Regions from separate parts of the Homo sapiens genome. Here all the other regions are linked to region 2. The links are contacts of gene promoters, found by promoter capture Hi-C in blood cells and fetal thymus (Javierre and others, 2016). All regions are on one chromosome and are shown on one strand. Each heading gives the region's core, a stretch centred on a gene start or on the middle of the fragment in contact. The rest is flanking DNA. Distances are from core to core; before and after follow the strand shown. Region 1 overlaps TRPS1 (transcriptional repressor GATA binding 1). Region 2 holds the start of RAD21-AS1 (RAD21 antisense RNA 1). Region 3 overlaps TRPS1 (transcriptional repressor GATA binding 1). Region 4 overlaps TRPS1 (transcriptional repressor GATA binding 1). Region 5 holds the start of EXT1 (exostosin glycosyltransferase 1).

The links. Contacts are between HindIII fragments. The CHiCAGO score rates a contact against its expected background, and 5 or more counts as called.
Region 1: a fragment that was not itself captured here is called in contact with the fragment with the promoter of RAD21-AS1 in region 2 in 1 of 17 cell types (neutrophils); the score reaches 5.1 in neutrophils.
Region 3: a contact is called between a fragment that was not itself captured here and the fragment with the promoter of RAD21-AS1 in region 2, in 2 of 17 cell types (naive CD4 T cells and non-activated CD4 T cells). The highest score is 5.9, in naive CD4 T cells.
Region 4: a fragment that was not itself captured here is called in contact with the fragment with the promoter of RAD21-AS1 in region 2 in 1 of 17 cell types (neutrophils); the score reaches 5.1 in neutrophils.
Region 5: the fragment with the promoter of EXT1 here is called in contact with the fragment with the promoter of RAD21-AS1 in region 2 in 6 of 17 cell types (naive CD8 T cells, total CD8 T cells, naive B cells and 3 more); the score reaches 9.7 in naive CD8 T cells.

What each region holds. Positions count from the first base shown.
Region 1 is chr8:115,424,899-115,427,598 of GRCh38, reverse strand. All of the region lies in intron 5 of TRPS1 (transcriptional repressor GATA binding 1), which reads left to right. Among named protein-coding and RNA genes, the nearest start is that of TRPS1-AS1, 83 kb to the left of the region's middle. The HindIII fragment of the contact is 3,991 bases long and covers 1-2,700 here.
Region 2 is chr8:116,873,174-116,875,873 of GRCh38, reverse strand. It overlaps RAD21-AS1 (RAD21 antisense RNA 1), which reads right to left and starts at 1,450. Exons shown (of 2, transcript NR_033886.1): 1 at 889-1,450; 2 at 1-453. It overlaps RAD21 (RAD21 cohesin complex component), which reads left to right and starts at 1,098. Exons shown (of 14, transcript NM_006265.3): 1 at 1,098-1,263. It overlaps MIR3610 (microRNA 3610), which reads left to right and starts at 1,074; the gene lies at 1,074-1,146. RefSeq lists an enhancer at 1,101-1,150 and silencers at 1,261-1,580, 1,741-1,790. The HindIII fragment of the contact is 5,133 bases long and covers 1-2,700 here.
Region 3 is chr8:115,656,102-115,658,840 of GRCh38, reverse strand. The region is part of intron 1 of TRPS1 (transcriptional repressor GATA binding 1); the gene reads left to right. Among named protein-coding and RNA genes, the nearest start is that of TRPS1, 12 kb to the left of the region's middle. RefSeq lists an enhancer at 385-679. The HindIII fragment of the contact is 958 bases long and covers 975-1,932 here.
Region 4 is chr8:115,442,412-115,445,136 of GRCh38, reverse strand. All of the region lies in intron 5 of TRPS1 (transcriptional repressor GATA binding 1), which reads left to right. Among named protein-coding and RNA genes, the nearest start is that of TRPS1-AS1, 66 kb to the left of the region's middle. The HindIII fragment of the contact is 3,221 bases long and covers 1-2,725 here.
Region 5 is chr8:118,110,420-118,113,119 of GRCh38, reverse strand. EXT1 (exostosin glycosyltransferase 1) reads left to right here and starts at 1,294. Exons shown (of 11, transcript NM_000127.3): 1 at 1,294-2,700. The coding sequence starts at 2,074. RefSeq lists silencers at 872-1,251, 1,352-1,441. The HindIII fragment of the contact is 5,337 bases long and covers 501-2,700 here.

The sequences.
Region 1 (2,700 bases), core at 11-2,510, 1.4 Mb after region 2:
GTTCACTGTGGCTTTGAAGTGAGGGCAACCTGGGTTTATATCTTAGCCCTACTATTCAGCAGTTGCAAATTGCTTCTAAGCCTCAGTTTTCTCATCTATAAAGTGGAGGGAATAATAATAATAATGATAATAATACTTGCCTCTTAGGATCATTCTGAGGATATCAGATAATGAGACTAGGCCTATCATATGTTATCCTGCAAACATATGTGCAATGATGATTATTTAAAAAGGGACAAAGATAGTCAAACAAGAGTATTCTATTAAATAGTTGATTCAAAAATTCTTTTTTATTTAATTAATTTTCTATTTATCTATTTTAGAGACAGTGTCTCGCTCTGTTGCCCAGGCTGGAGTACAGTGACATGATTATAGCTCACTACAGTCTAGAACCCCTGGGCTCAAACCATCCTCTCTCCTCAGCCTCCAGAGTAGCTCAGATTATAGATGCATACCACCACACCCAACTAATTTTTTTTTTAACTTTTTGTAGAGACACGTTCTTGCTGTGTTTGCCTTGGTTGATCTCAAGCTCCTAGCCTCAAGCAATCCTCCCACCTTGACCTCCCAAAGCACTGGGATTACAGGCATGAGCTACCACGCCTGGCCAAAAATGCTTTTTAGAATATGATCCTGTCATATTGCCTAGACTTAGAGACCAGAATGTGTTCTTTGATGCTAGATAAGTCAAAGAACTATTGTCAGTTTTGTACTTCATCAATAAAAGGAGAGTAATAGTAATTAGTAATTCACCGTAAATCTGAACTGGGATAATATGTGTTAGGAGTTCTTAACCTTGGGATCTGGATCAGTCGGCACTCAAATCCACAGGAAATCTTTGGATACATTTTGTGAGGGACATGCTTTTGACCATGTTAAAGTTATTTGTAAATATTTTACACTTTATTTTTTTCTGGAGAGTGTCATACATTTCACCAAAAGATTGTATGATCCCCAAGAGTGTGAGAAACCATCGAGGAACCACTGAATTGTATATAGCTGCCTCGAGGGTGGCAACACTTCATAAACCAGTTATTATGTTAGATACTATGAAAAGAATTATTGATTTTTTTTCTGTTTTTTCCCAAAATAACCATTATATATTATAAAGGCAGCCCTAAAAAGGTGTAATACATGAAATATTAATAACTGTATCTGACTCTCTAATTAAATGCCTAGAAGCTGAGACTTTTGGCTTTTAGGACTTTTCTAGAAAGGTCTTCATCGCTGATATTTTTATTTTTAGAATATGAACCTATCCCAGAATAAATCTGCTTATTAAATATATTATATAAATAAAATATGCAACAAATTTATTAGAAGAATCAACTCTTGTGCTGTCACACTGAAGTTTAAGAGGTGCTAAAATTGTTTAACTGTGCCTCCAAAAGGCCTTTTAGTATTTTTTTCCTTCCAGTGTCAGATTTTGGCACTGGCATAGAAGAAAGTCCCCATAGAGCTACTTTCCAGCCATTGTTGTAGCTGAAGGAAGGGTGAAAACACATACAGGATGGCAAAAATAGAAGCTCTGAGAGACTTGAGTAGTTCTTTTAACAATAATGACTTTCACGTGGAATGAAAAAAAAGACAGTGCAGACATAAATTTTCAACCATATTTTTAGCTGTCCAAATGCATATTTGCTGTAAAGGCAGAACATTATTACAGAAACAGCGTGGTTAGAACTCCAGAAATCTGGGTTTTTCCAATTCTGATTCTATTATGTAATTTCATTATGACACAGGGTGTTTGGTTTGCTCCTTTACCAAATACAGGGTTAGCTACCAAATATGGGGTTAGTTAAAGAAGGGAGATGGGGTCCTCAGATCTGTGTAATAGGTTTTATATCTGTGTGATAAATTTCTAAAACCTTGAGATGTAAAGAATCTGTATGAATAAAGAGTGGGATATACATGGGGAAATAGTGATTTTCTGCTCTTTCACTCTGAGAATCACCAGTTACATCTCAGAAGAGATGGAGCTAATGTGTTTAGCACAGCAGCATTACCTGATATATCGGGTAGCTCCCTATGTGGCGACATTGTCAGTGGGATAAGTCTTAGGTGCATTCATATCTCAGTGCAAGGTATGATTACTGGAGTATGTATTGCCTCATGTCCTGGAACAAAAACTGTTCTATTGCTCTTAGCCAGAGATGCCAGTTTAGTTTACACTGGTCTCCATTATCATTGCTGATGTGTTGAGGAAGTGAATTTAATAAGCAGGGTAAACAGGTTTTGTTTCCAAGCTCTATGGTGATTATAAGATGGGTGCTTGGCTGAACCTGATAGAGTCCCTTCAGTTTTTTGGCAAGAAATCTGAGGGCAAAGAGGACTGTTTTAAAGCAGGCAAAGACATGCAGTACAGCCCATTTCAACGGATTCTTCACAATTTTATTTGAAACAAAAGTTGGCCAGGATATTGGTAAACTATTGCTTTCTGTTGGCAGAGTGCTTTCCCTGGTCTTGTTCAATTGTTGGCCAGCCTGTGCTCCTGGTAAGAGTCTGGCTATTAATCTAAAGGTGTTTATTGCAAACCACCATCTATTTTTAAGTTGTTTTAGCTCCTGAATTCAGTATATTCCATAGGGTCTACTGGTGTGTAGTCAACAGCTGGTTAATTCTATTTTGGAGGGGAAGAGGGGAGGGACATGGCCTTCGATGTCTCCTAGTGGCGCATGATAGAGATAAGAATAAAATAAT
Region 2 (2,700 bases), core at 201-2,700:
AATTTTTGGAAGAGACCATCCTTTTCCCAACGTATGTTCTTGGCAGCTTTGTCAGAAATTAGTTGACTGTATATGTATTGATTTATTTATAGGTCCTCTATTCTGTTCCGTTAGTCTATGTGTCTGTTTTTATGCCAGCACCATGCTGTTTTGTTTACTATCACTTTGTAGTATAATTTGAAGTCAGGTAATGTGATGCCTCCAGCTTTATTCTTTTGCTCAGGATTGCTTTGGCTATTCTTGGTCTTATTGTGGTTCCATATAAATTTTAGGATTTTTTTCCTCTTTCTGTGAAGAATGTCATTGATATTTTGATAGGGATTACATTGAATCTGTAGATTGCTCTGGGTAGTATGGAAATTTTAACAATATTGATTCTTCCAATCCATGAACATGGAATATATTTCCATTTTTGTGTGTCCTCTTCAATTTCTTTCATCACTGGAAAGATCTCTACAATAAAAACAAAAGTAAATTTCTTCGTGGTACAAGTAAGTCTTTTAAGATAAGAAATTTTAAGATTCCTCCCAAGCAATACTGAAAATTTCCAAAAGGCAGTTATTATCTCTGTTATATTAATCATTATATCCAGAGCCCAACGTGTAGCAAACAGAAGACCCTCTATAATATAGGTTGACTGAATAAATGAACCTCTATATTTTATGGAATTAGTTTGAGGTTTTTATGTTACTTTCATCCCTATAGAGCCATAAAATGAATTTTTTGGTGGGGGCACACAAAATTGCACCACGACAGCTTTTTTCTTTAAAACAAGCACAAGAATAAAGCTAAACGCAAATATTCACCGCACTGGAAAGCACTGCGCGTGCGCTATCTTACGCTATTGGCTAACACCGCAACTCTCAAAGACCCTCGCAAGAGAATCACCTTTGCGCTTGCTCAGTTGTGGACTCCACAAACAGAGGGCGGGTTCCAAAGAAAAGGAAATAGTCATTGCGCCTGCGCCGCTCCTTCTGGGGGGAGGGGGGGGCTTGGGCTGGCTGCGCAGGCGCACAGGTACCATTTTGACCGTAAACATCCTGCCGATTTGAACCGAGGATTTGGGCGGCAGGAAGAGCCGCGGCGTAACGGCAGCCATCTTGTTTGTTTGAGTGAATCGGAAAGGAGGCGCCGGCTGTGGCGGCGGCGGGAGCTGCTCGGAAGCTACACCTCGCAAGGGCTCCCCCCTTTCCCCACCCCCTCCCCCGACCCTTTTCCCCTCCCCGGGCCACCCAGCCCGCCCAACTCCCAGCGGAGAGCAAGGTAAGAGACTCGGCCGACCCCTTCTTTTCCTCCAGCTCCCTCCCCCCACCCTTTCCCCGCCGCTCTGCCGTCGGGGAGCCGGACTCCTGGGGGCGGGAGGGCGAGGGAGAAGGCAGCCCTCGCCGCGCCCACGCGTGCTGCCACCCTCCCGGCGCCCAAGCGGCGGCGCCACCCGCCCAGCCCCCTTCGCCCCGGGCCCGCCCTCGGCCCGGACCCATGCAGCTTGGGCCCGCATCATCGCTTGTTCGGTAACAAATGATTCTGATCCATTCTGAGATCTACAAAGGCTGTTACCCTGCAGGTCCATCTCACGTCCCCCAGGAGGCCGGGGAAACCCTGGGCTGCGGAGGGAGGGGAGGAGGTTTGAACGAGCCCGCTCTGGGGACCGGGCCGCCTACTCCGCGGGTAAAAATGGCTGTCTGGGAGGAGGCGGTGGCGGGCCCGGCGCCCGCGGTGCCAGCCCCGGGAGCAGCAACCTTCCGCCGAACTCGGGTGCGGGGCTCAAGAAAGTGCGGAGCTGGTGGGGCTGGGCGGGGTGGGGCGGGGGGTCGGCGGGTGCCCCTCGGCCAGTGACTGCTGCTGCCCTCCCGTTTTAAAAAGATAATTTTTACGTTGGGAATGCTGAATATTTCACAGACGCGTGGAAAAAGAGACGGAGGGAAGTTGCTTCTTTTTCCAAGGATATTTGCATAATTGGTTTTCCCCTGAACTTTTCTGATCATTCTTTAAAGTGATTAAGGATATCGGGTGTTGTAGAGACGCTCTGGGGGAGGTGTGTGTTTCTGATAAATGCTTGATGCCCTTTTCGTCGCTGAAAAAGGCTTTTTGCGAATGATCCGCTTTGATAGTGTGGGGTGACACTGTCGGGTTGTGCTGCCAGACTTAGCGGCCTTCTTCAAATTTGTAAGAGGGAAACCCTGGGGGATTTACTTGGTCACTCTGATTTGTTAGTGTCTTCAGCGTGAAAAAAAAAACAGCGTTTGTGCGAAGAGTTTCTGGGAAAGGCTTGTGTTTATCGGCTTCTTTTTGCAAGGGAAAGTTAATCTTTGTTGTCATTATACTGGTTAGAAGAGTAATTGGTTTTCAGGCAAAAATTTCTATTTTCTTAAATTGGGTGTAAATGCCAGCGGGCAGTGCGAGTCTATAGAATTTTGGAGACAGGCAGGAGAAGGTTTCTCAAATCGTGAAGTCATTAAATACCTTTGTTAATGTCGGAGGCAACTAATTATTTTTGGAAAGGCATTGATGAGGACATACGCCATATCTGATCTTCAAATAAGTTAACAGTTTGTATAGTTGAGGTGACAGCAGTGCATAACTAATAGACATAGTGCTTTTTTTTATACACAAGTCAGAATTACAAAAGAATTTCTGGTGAATTATTTTGTGAAACATACAAATTCTAAGAAACGCTTTTACAGTTTGGTACAGAATGGA
Region 3 (2,739 bases), core at 204-2,703, 1.2 Mb after region 2:
CTAACATTCAGCTTTTTAGTGTTATACATATTTTTATTCAACATTACACATATTTGTGTACATTTAGTGTTACACATATTTGTATTTAGTGTTACATGTATTTGTGTACATTTATGTACATCATGTACTTTTTACTCCCAGAATAATTCAGTATATCACTGTTAGCACATAATTATGGACATACATATTCTTCTCACTTCCTGAACGATTCAGTGTGTCCTTGGCAATACTAACACTTTAAAAATGAGAGTAATAATGATTAGAGCTGGAGAACTGGGGGTAGATAGTAGTATTAGCAGGTTTCCCTCCTTTTAATTTTTCCCATTTTCAGTTCCTTCTTTAAAAGAGAGATGTATATATATCTGAACAGAAGGGGGACTAGGATACTGTATAATCCATGATAACATAAGGAACGGTTGCTGCATATGGCTTTATTTATATATCTCTGACATAGAAAACTTTGACCCCTTTGCCTGTTGTACTTGGGAATTTTAGATAAACCCCACTGGGGTCACACTCATCAGTTCCGGCTTTGCGTGACTCAAGGCATTCTCTAGCTTCTGGTGCGCTACTGTGCTGTTTTCCTTCAGGAGTGGAAGGTCCTGTAAGTTCATTTGGCATTTGGAAGCACAACTAGATTTCTTCCTTTTTGAAAATCCTCTGACTGGGTTACAGAAGAGTAAGCAGAGATCATGGGCAGCATGATGTCGTTGATTTTAGGATGCTAAAGAAAATTATGCTGAGACCAAGCATGCTTCCTCTGGCTTATTCTGCCCTGCTTTATCATCATTTTTTTCTTTTTTTCAACTTCCTACCCCTCTTCCCCCTACACTGTTTGGGGTCTAATATTTTAGTTTCTGGAGGAGTAAGGATTTGCCTTCTCAGTGGAAAAATGTGTAAGCTGCAGGATTTTTACCTACCTTTCTTTATAACTTTTCCATTCTGGGGACAGTGTCTAAGAAGAGGAAAAAGCTTACATACTTTATTTTATTTTATTTTATTGTTTGCTATTGAGTAGGAGTTTGCTATTCCATTTCTATGTGGAAATGCGTTGCATGGAATTAAATAAAGTTGTATAATTTTGAAACAATTATAAGCACCAACTGTGACATAGTTCTGGCTTTTAAAAAAAGTCAATTTTAGTTATGCAGTACTTCCACCAAACTCTCTATTCCAAGTTTATAAATGTGAATTTGACCATTCGACCATGGATGATGCTTGAAAGTCATGTTTTCTGGATTTAGGGCAGAAGAATACTTGAAAGATTCTCACCATCAGTATGTTTTAGATTCCCAAGAGGTACAATGCCAAGTGTCATGTTATCAACTCTTTGAGGTCTACAGTAAGGAGTTTACTTGTTTCTGGTAGCTTATAAATTCAATAACATCAGTCACAGGCTTCTTAACGTATTTATGAGTTGAGCTAGTGTAGTTCAATAAATGATTGTACTTCCATCAAGTCGAGGGAGTAACGCAAACTAGAATAGTAGCCATCTATTAAGGATAGTTCTGAGGTTTGGAATTTGTAACTGATTTTTAGGAGCTACGACATGAATATCATATCAGGTAGAAATACTCAGAGTGATCACCTTTTATGAAAGTTAGTTCTATCTTTCATGTCTAGGAAAATATAACAGTGAATGTTTGCTTTTTGTATGTTTTGTCTCCAAGCAGAGGAAACTGACAGTTTTATGTTTTAAGTGCCGAAAGTTGTTTTTGGCTAGGCAGTTCCAGAGTTAATCACTGGGATGTTAACTTGAATTTTTGTCTTTAAAATGTTTTAGATTTTTAAAACGAAATATGCTTCCATTATTTCCAAACTGACACCTTGTGTTCTGGATTAGTTTTTAGAGAAATGTTTTCCAAATTCTCTTGGATTACTTGAAGTCCATTGATTTTGAAATATTTAGTTTAGTTTTTTTCTTTTAAAGCTTATCAGAAAGTAGAGGAAGTACTTTATCTTTTCGGGGTTTTCTTATTCCAGAAACCTTGTTATTGCCTGTAAAATGCAAATGAATTTTGCACTTATTTTGTTTTATTTTCTCTTGTGTTTTCAGAAATGTTTTGATGCATCAGAAATTGAGAGATCAGTGATTTCAGTTCTCCTGTCACACCTTTTTATGATAAAATATTTTGGTCATTTCTAAGGAGTAGTTAGAGGGAAATCCTTTCATAAATCATTTTCACTTCAAAAAAACAGTGATGTTGGAAAATCATATAGTATTCTTTGTGATTAGTTGAAAATTATGAATGGTGTAAAATAATATGACATTTAATTGTTTCTCATTTAGACATGATGCATTTTATATCTCAAAATTTGATGGGAGGAAAAAGAAAAAAAAGAACTCACAACTTTTACCAGGTTTGAAACTAGCTTAAGATAGTTCTGTGGAATTCTCCAAAAGTGATAAGAAAATTTAAAATACTGCCCAGACACAGGGTTAAAAATTAAATCTGTATGTAGAGTGGAGACTTTAATCTGACATATTTTAATGTAAAGACATTTTAGAATAAAGAAAGCTTTCTCTGGTTTTGTCGGCTGTTTTTGTTTTTCGACTGCTTTGCATGAGACGATCGGCATTCTTAAATTATAATTATGTGTAAAAACAAATAAGCTGCTACTGTAAAAAGTAACAGCTCTGCACATATATCTTGAATACTACTAGAAAACATTTTCATTAGAGGAATAAATGCATTAGGCCCTAAATAAATTTAAGATACCAAATTGCAAACTTAGTAT
Region 4 (2,725 bases), core at 208-2,707, 1.4 Mb after region 2:
GTCTGTTTGAGGGAACTTAGAATAAACTAGTTTGACTGGGAGGGTTCAGAGAAGGGTGATGGGTAATTGAGGAATCTAGGTTATGAAGAGCCTTATGAATGTGGCACAAAGGATTTTGGAATTTATCCACTGAGTTGTGAAAAGATGAAAGTTATAAACGAAGACATGATATAATTAGGTTGTCTTCAGAAATTTAACCTAGAAATGATATCATTGGTGGATTGGAAAACAAAGACACAAGTGCAAGGAGCTATCCCCTCATAGAAGGAAAACCTCAATACTAGAAACAATCTACAGGACTTGGTGACTAATTGGATATGGTGGAGGAAGTTGGTGCCAATTTCAGGATGGTGGAGTCACACTGAATGATGAAAAGGGGAAGAAAATCATCTTTGTTGGAAAATACCATTTAAAAAAATTGTTGAGTTTTGAGATGATGAGACACAATTCATTTTATTAATTGAGGACTGATGATTTGAAAGACATACTGGGGAGACTCCCCCAAAAAAGGGTGCTCTTTGCCCTCTAGAAGCTCATAGGTTAGTGGGAGATATAGTCAAGTTTATAAACATTGTAGAAAAAGGTATACTTTGAAAATGTTAGAACTACCAATAAAATGAAATGAACAGATTGAAGACAGACAGAGATATCTTGAGGAGCTAAAAGAAGTACTTTGACCTGGACCTAAAAAGATGGATAGGAAGAACGTACATCAGTTGGATTCACTCTTCATTTATTTATTTAACGAAAATGTATTGAGCACCTGTTCTATTGTATGTACCATGTTGGACACCAGACATGATGGTAAGAAATCACATTCCTTATCAGAGCACCTGTTCTATTGTATGTACCATGTTGGACACCAGACATGATGGTAAGAAATCACATTCCTTATCAGAGCACCTGTTCTATTGTATGTACCATGTTGGACACCAGACATGATGGTAAGAAATCACATTCCTTATAAAAACTGGCAAGTACACAGTCTTTGTAGCTGGCATGTGATCCCATGTAGAGGGATCAAAGGGGTAAGGATGGGGGACCTTAGTGGAAGATAAGATGCTAATGATAAACTACATGGCGAAGGAGTGAGAGCCCTAGGTTGCTTTTCTCTAAATAATGGGGATCTTTAAATGTTTGGGGAGAGGTGAGATCTTCATTTTAGATCTATATTGAATACATTGTAAATCTATGTTTTTAGAAAGGTGACAAAATACTCAAGTTGAAGTATTTGTTTATAGATATATTAGACACTGAGATACATTTTATATGCTCATCCAAATGTTGGTGTCAGCCAGTCACAGGAGGTGTGGGATTGCTGAGTTTGAGTTTGAGGAAAGGATGGATTTCTGAAATGGAACGATCATAACCAATATTTATTGAGTACTTAATGTTATCCAATCACTGAATTAATTCCTTTAGTCCTCACCCCAGCCTGCTAGGTGGATGTCATTATTATATGCTTATACAGATGAAGACATTGCATTGAGGAGAGTCTAATCAACCTGCCCAAGGTCACATGGCTAGTTAGTGTCATAGGCAGGATTTGAACCCAGACCAGCAGGCTCCACTACCTCCAGACTACCAAGGCAGTAAAGACAGAAAGGCTTAGGATAATTAATATCAAAGGACTTGAAGGTTATTTTAGCAAAATTAATGCTGATGAGAACCGAGCAGATTGTGCAAATGTCAAGGCCAAGAGGTTTGTGGAGTGAGGAATACACCTTCTAAAGGAGGCAGTCACAGGCACCTCAGCTATGTCTTGCCATGTGAGAAAATGAACCTAGTAATATGAGACATTATAACTGTCAACAAAACCTAGAAAGTATAGATTTTTATGTCAAATCACCCACTTCTTTTCTTTTCAAGGAGACAGTCTCACTCTGTCACCCAGGCTGGAGTGCAGTGGCATGATGTCAGCTCACTGCAGCCTTTGCCTTCTGGGTTCAAGCGATTGTCCTGCCTCAGCCTCCCAAGTAGCTGGGACTACAGGAATATGCCACCACGTCCAGCTATTTTTTTTTCCTTTTTCTTTTTTTTTGAGATGGAGTCTCGCTCTGTCACACAGGCTGGAGTGCAGTGGCAAGATCTCGGCTCGCTGCAAGCTCCGCCTCCCAAGTTCACGCCATTCTCCTGCCTCAGCCTCTCTGGCAGCTGGGACTACAGGCGCCCGCCACCACGTCCGGCTAATTTTTTTTGTATTTTTTTTAGTAGAGATGGGTTTTCACCGTGTTAGCCAGGATGATCTCGATCTCCTGACGTCGTGATCCACCCGCCCCAGTCTCCCAAAGTGCTGGGATTACCGGCGTGAGCCACCGCGCCTGGCCTTTTTTTTTTAGTAGAGACAGGGTTTCACCATGTTGGTCAGGCTGGTCTCAAACTCCTGACTTCAAATGATCCGCCCGCCTCAGCATCCCAAAGTGCTGGAATTACAGGCGTGAGCCCCTGCGCCCAGTCAAATCACCCAATTTTTAAATGTTGATAACTTAAATTCTCATTTTGCACTATGCTGTGTAACCCCTTCCTTCCCCCAAACACACACATGCACACACACATACACACACACACACACACACACACACACACGCACCATACTTGGATGCTTGCTACCCAGATATGGACCTCTGTTCGCCAGCAAGAAGAAAGTATGTATGTACATTATATATGTATTAGTGCAGCCCCCTATTTATTGCCATAGACAGAATTAGAGAATTTTCCAAAGTAG
Region 5 (2,700 bases), core at 45-2,544, 1.2 Mb before region 2:
GTCTAGCTTGCCCGAGCCCTGAGACTTTAGCTAGGCCAGAGGGTGGGAGGTGTTTTCTGTAAAGCAGTGTTCAGGATCTGAGGCCAGGGAGTTTGACTTTGACCAGAGATACTGTTTGGGAGCCTAGCACATCTTTGTGGACCTGGAGGATCTTTAGCGGGACTGCTCCTCGGTTACCTGAGTTATCTAATGAAGTTCTTCCACTGGGAGTGGCAGGAGCTTGGGCCAAGGAGTGGGAGGTCAGTGAGGGAAGGACCAACTATTTGGCACTAATTGTACATAAGGTAGTTTTCCTGATGCAAGTGTTCCTTCTATAGCTGGGACAGTTGGCAATTCTACCAGTCATATGTCCTTAAGAGATATCTTTAACACCACCACCACCACCACCACCACCAAGAGAATAACATCACTTTGAGGACTGGGGCAAGCTTAAATTAACTGGTTTCCCTGCAGCCATTAGAAAATTTATTTTTTCTCTGTGATTGGATCTCTTGGAAGCTTTCTTCATAATAGACAGAGGGGGCTCAGGCAAGGCGGCCTAAGTAGATAATGAGGATTTAGGATAGCCGTCTTACACTCTTAGCACAGAGGCAGGCATGAAGAATTGCAACAATTCCTCTTGATTGTAATAATTCCTCTTTATTGTTGGGCATTGGGGTGTTTCTTTGGTTTAAAAAAATGTGCTATGTAGAGGAGGAGTAAGGGGAGATTGTTTTAATGCTTAGCAGAAAATTGAAATACTGGGTCTCGGAGAGTGGAAGGAGGGCTGGGAGAGGCAGCTTTCGGATCGGCGGTCGCTTTCTATGAAGTCTTCCTTTCCTCCCTGCTTCCCTCCTTCAAAGCATCTTTCTCTAGGCGTTCCGGCAGGCAGCCCAGGAGGCCAGATTCTCCAGGGCGCCCGGGGCCGCGCGGCACGGGGCCCCTGCCGGTGCCTCCTTCCCCGGCCGCCGCGTTTCCGCAGGCGCCTCTGGTCCCCGGCACGGCGCAGGCCGAGATCCGGGCCTGGGCGCGCCGAGGGGCCGCGGGGCTCGCACCGGGCCGTCCCGCGCTCCACCTGCCCGGCAGCCCGCCGGCAGCTTGCAACCCGGGAGCCCCGGCTCCCTGCGCCCCCTACGCCCCCAACGCCGCGCCGGCGCCTCGGCCCGCGGCCGGGGGTTATGAATGGGCGCAGCGGAAGCACCGCCCCCCCCGGACGTGACGCTCGGCCAATGGCAGCGCGGGCTGCGTGGATGGATGAGGTCAGCGCTGTCGTGTCGGGAATGGAATGTGTAAGTGTAACATTCAGAACCGGGTAACATTCGGCGACCGAACGCGGCGGTCGGCAGCGTTCGCGCGGGGGCCTGCGAAGCGCTGCTCGGGGCCGGCACTGCCCGCGGGGAGGACGCGCCGCCGCCGCCACCCAGCGCCGCCGCCGCCGCCGCCTCCAGCCGGGCCGCCGCGCGTCCCGGGGGCCGGCCCCGCGAGCGCAGGAGTAAACACCGCCGGAGTCTTGGAGCCGCTGCAGAAGGGAATAAAGAGAGATGCAGGGATTTGTGAGGTTACGGCGCCCCAGCTGCAAGATGCACTAGCCGGCTGAACCCGGGATCGGCTGACTTGTTGGAACCGGAGTGCTCTGCACGGAGAGTGGTGGATGAGTTGAAGTTGCCTTCCCGGGGCTCATTTTCCACGCTGCCGAGAGGAATCCGAGAGGCAAGGCAATCACTTCGTCTTGCCATTGATTGGGTATCGGGAGCTTTTTTTTTCTCCCCTCTCTCTTTCTTTTCCTCCGTCTTGTTGCATGCAAGAAAATTACAGTCCGCTGCTCGCCCGCCCTGGGTGCGAGATATTCAGCCCCGCTCTCTCCCGTGCATTGTGCAACCCAAAGATGAAAGACCGAAGGGGAGAAAGTTAAAGAAATCGCCCACATGCGCTGGATCAGTCCACGGCTTGGGGAAAGGCATCCAGAGAAGGTGGGAGCGGAGAGTTTGAAGTCTTTACAGGCGGGAAGATGGCGGACTGGAGCTGAAAGTGTTGATTGGGAAACTTGGGTGATTCTTGTGTTTATTTACAATCCTCTTGACCCAGGCAGGACACATGCAGGCCAAAAAACGCTATTTCATCCTGCTCTCAGCTGGCTCTTGTCTCGCCCTTTTGTTTTATTTCGGAGGCTTGCAGTTTAGGGCATCGAGGAGCCACAGCCGGAGAGAAGAACACAGCGGTAGGAATGGCTTGCACCACCCCAGTCCGGATCATTTCTGGCCCCGCTTCCCGGACGCTCTGCGCCCCTTCGTTCCTTGGGATCAATTGGAAAACGAGGATTCCAGCGTGCACATTTCCCCCCGGCAGAAGCGAGATGCCAACTCCAGCATCTACAAAGGCAAGAAGTGCCGCATGGAGTCCTGCTTCGATTTCACCCTTTGCAAGAAAAACGGCTTCAAAGTCTACGTATACCCACAGCAAAAAGGGGAGAAAATCGCCGAAAGTTACCAAAACATTCTAGCGGCCATCGAGGGCTCCAGGTTCTACACCTCGGACCCCAGCCAGGCGTGCCTCTTTGTCCTGAGTCTGGATACTTTAGACAGAGACCAGTTGTCACCTCAGTATGTGCACAATTTGAGATCCAAAGTGCAGAGTCTCCACTTGTGGAACAATGGTAGGAATCATTTAATTTTTAATTTATATTCCGGCACTTGGCCTGACTACACCGAGGACGTGGGGTTT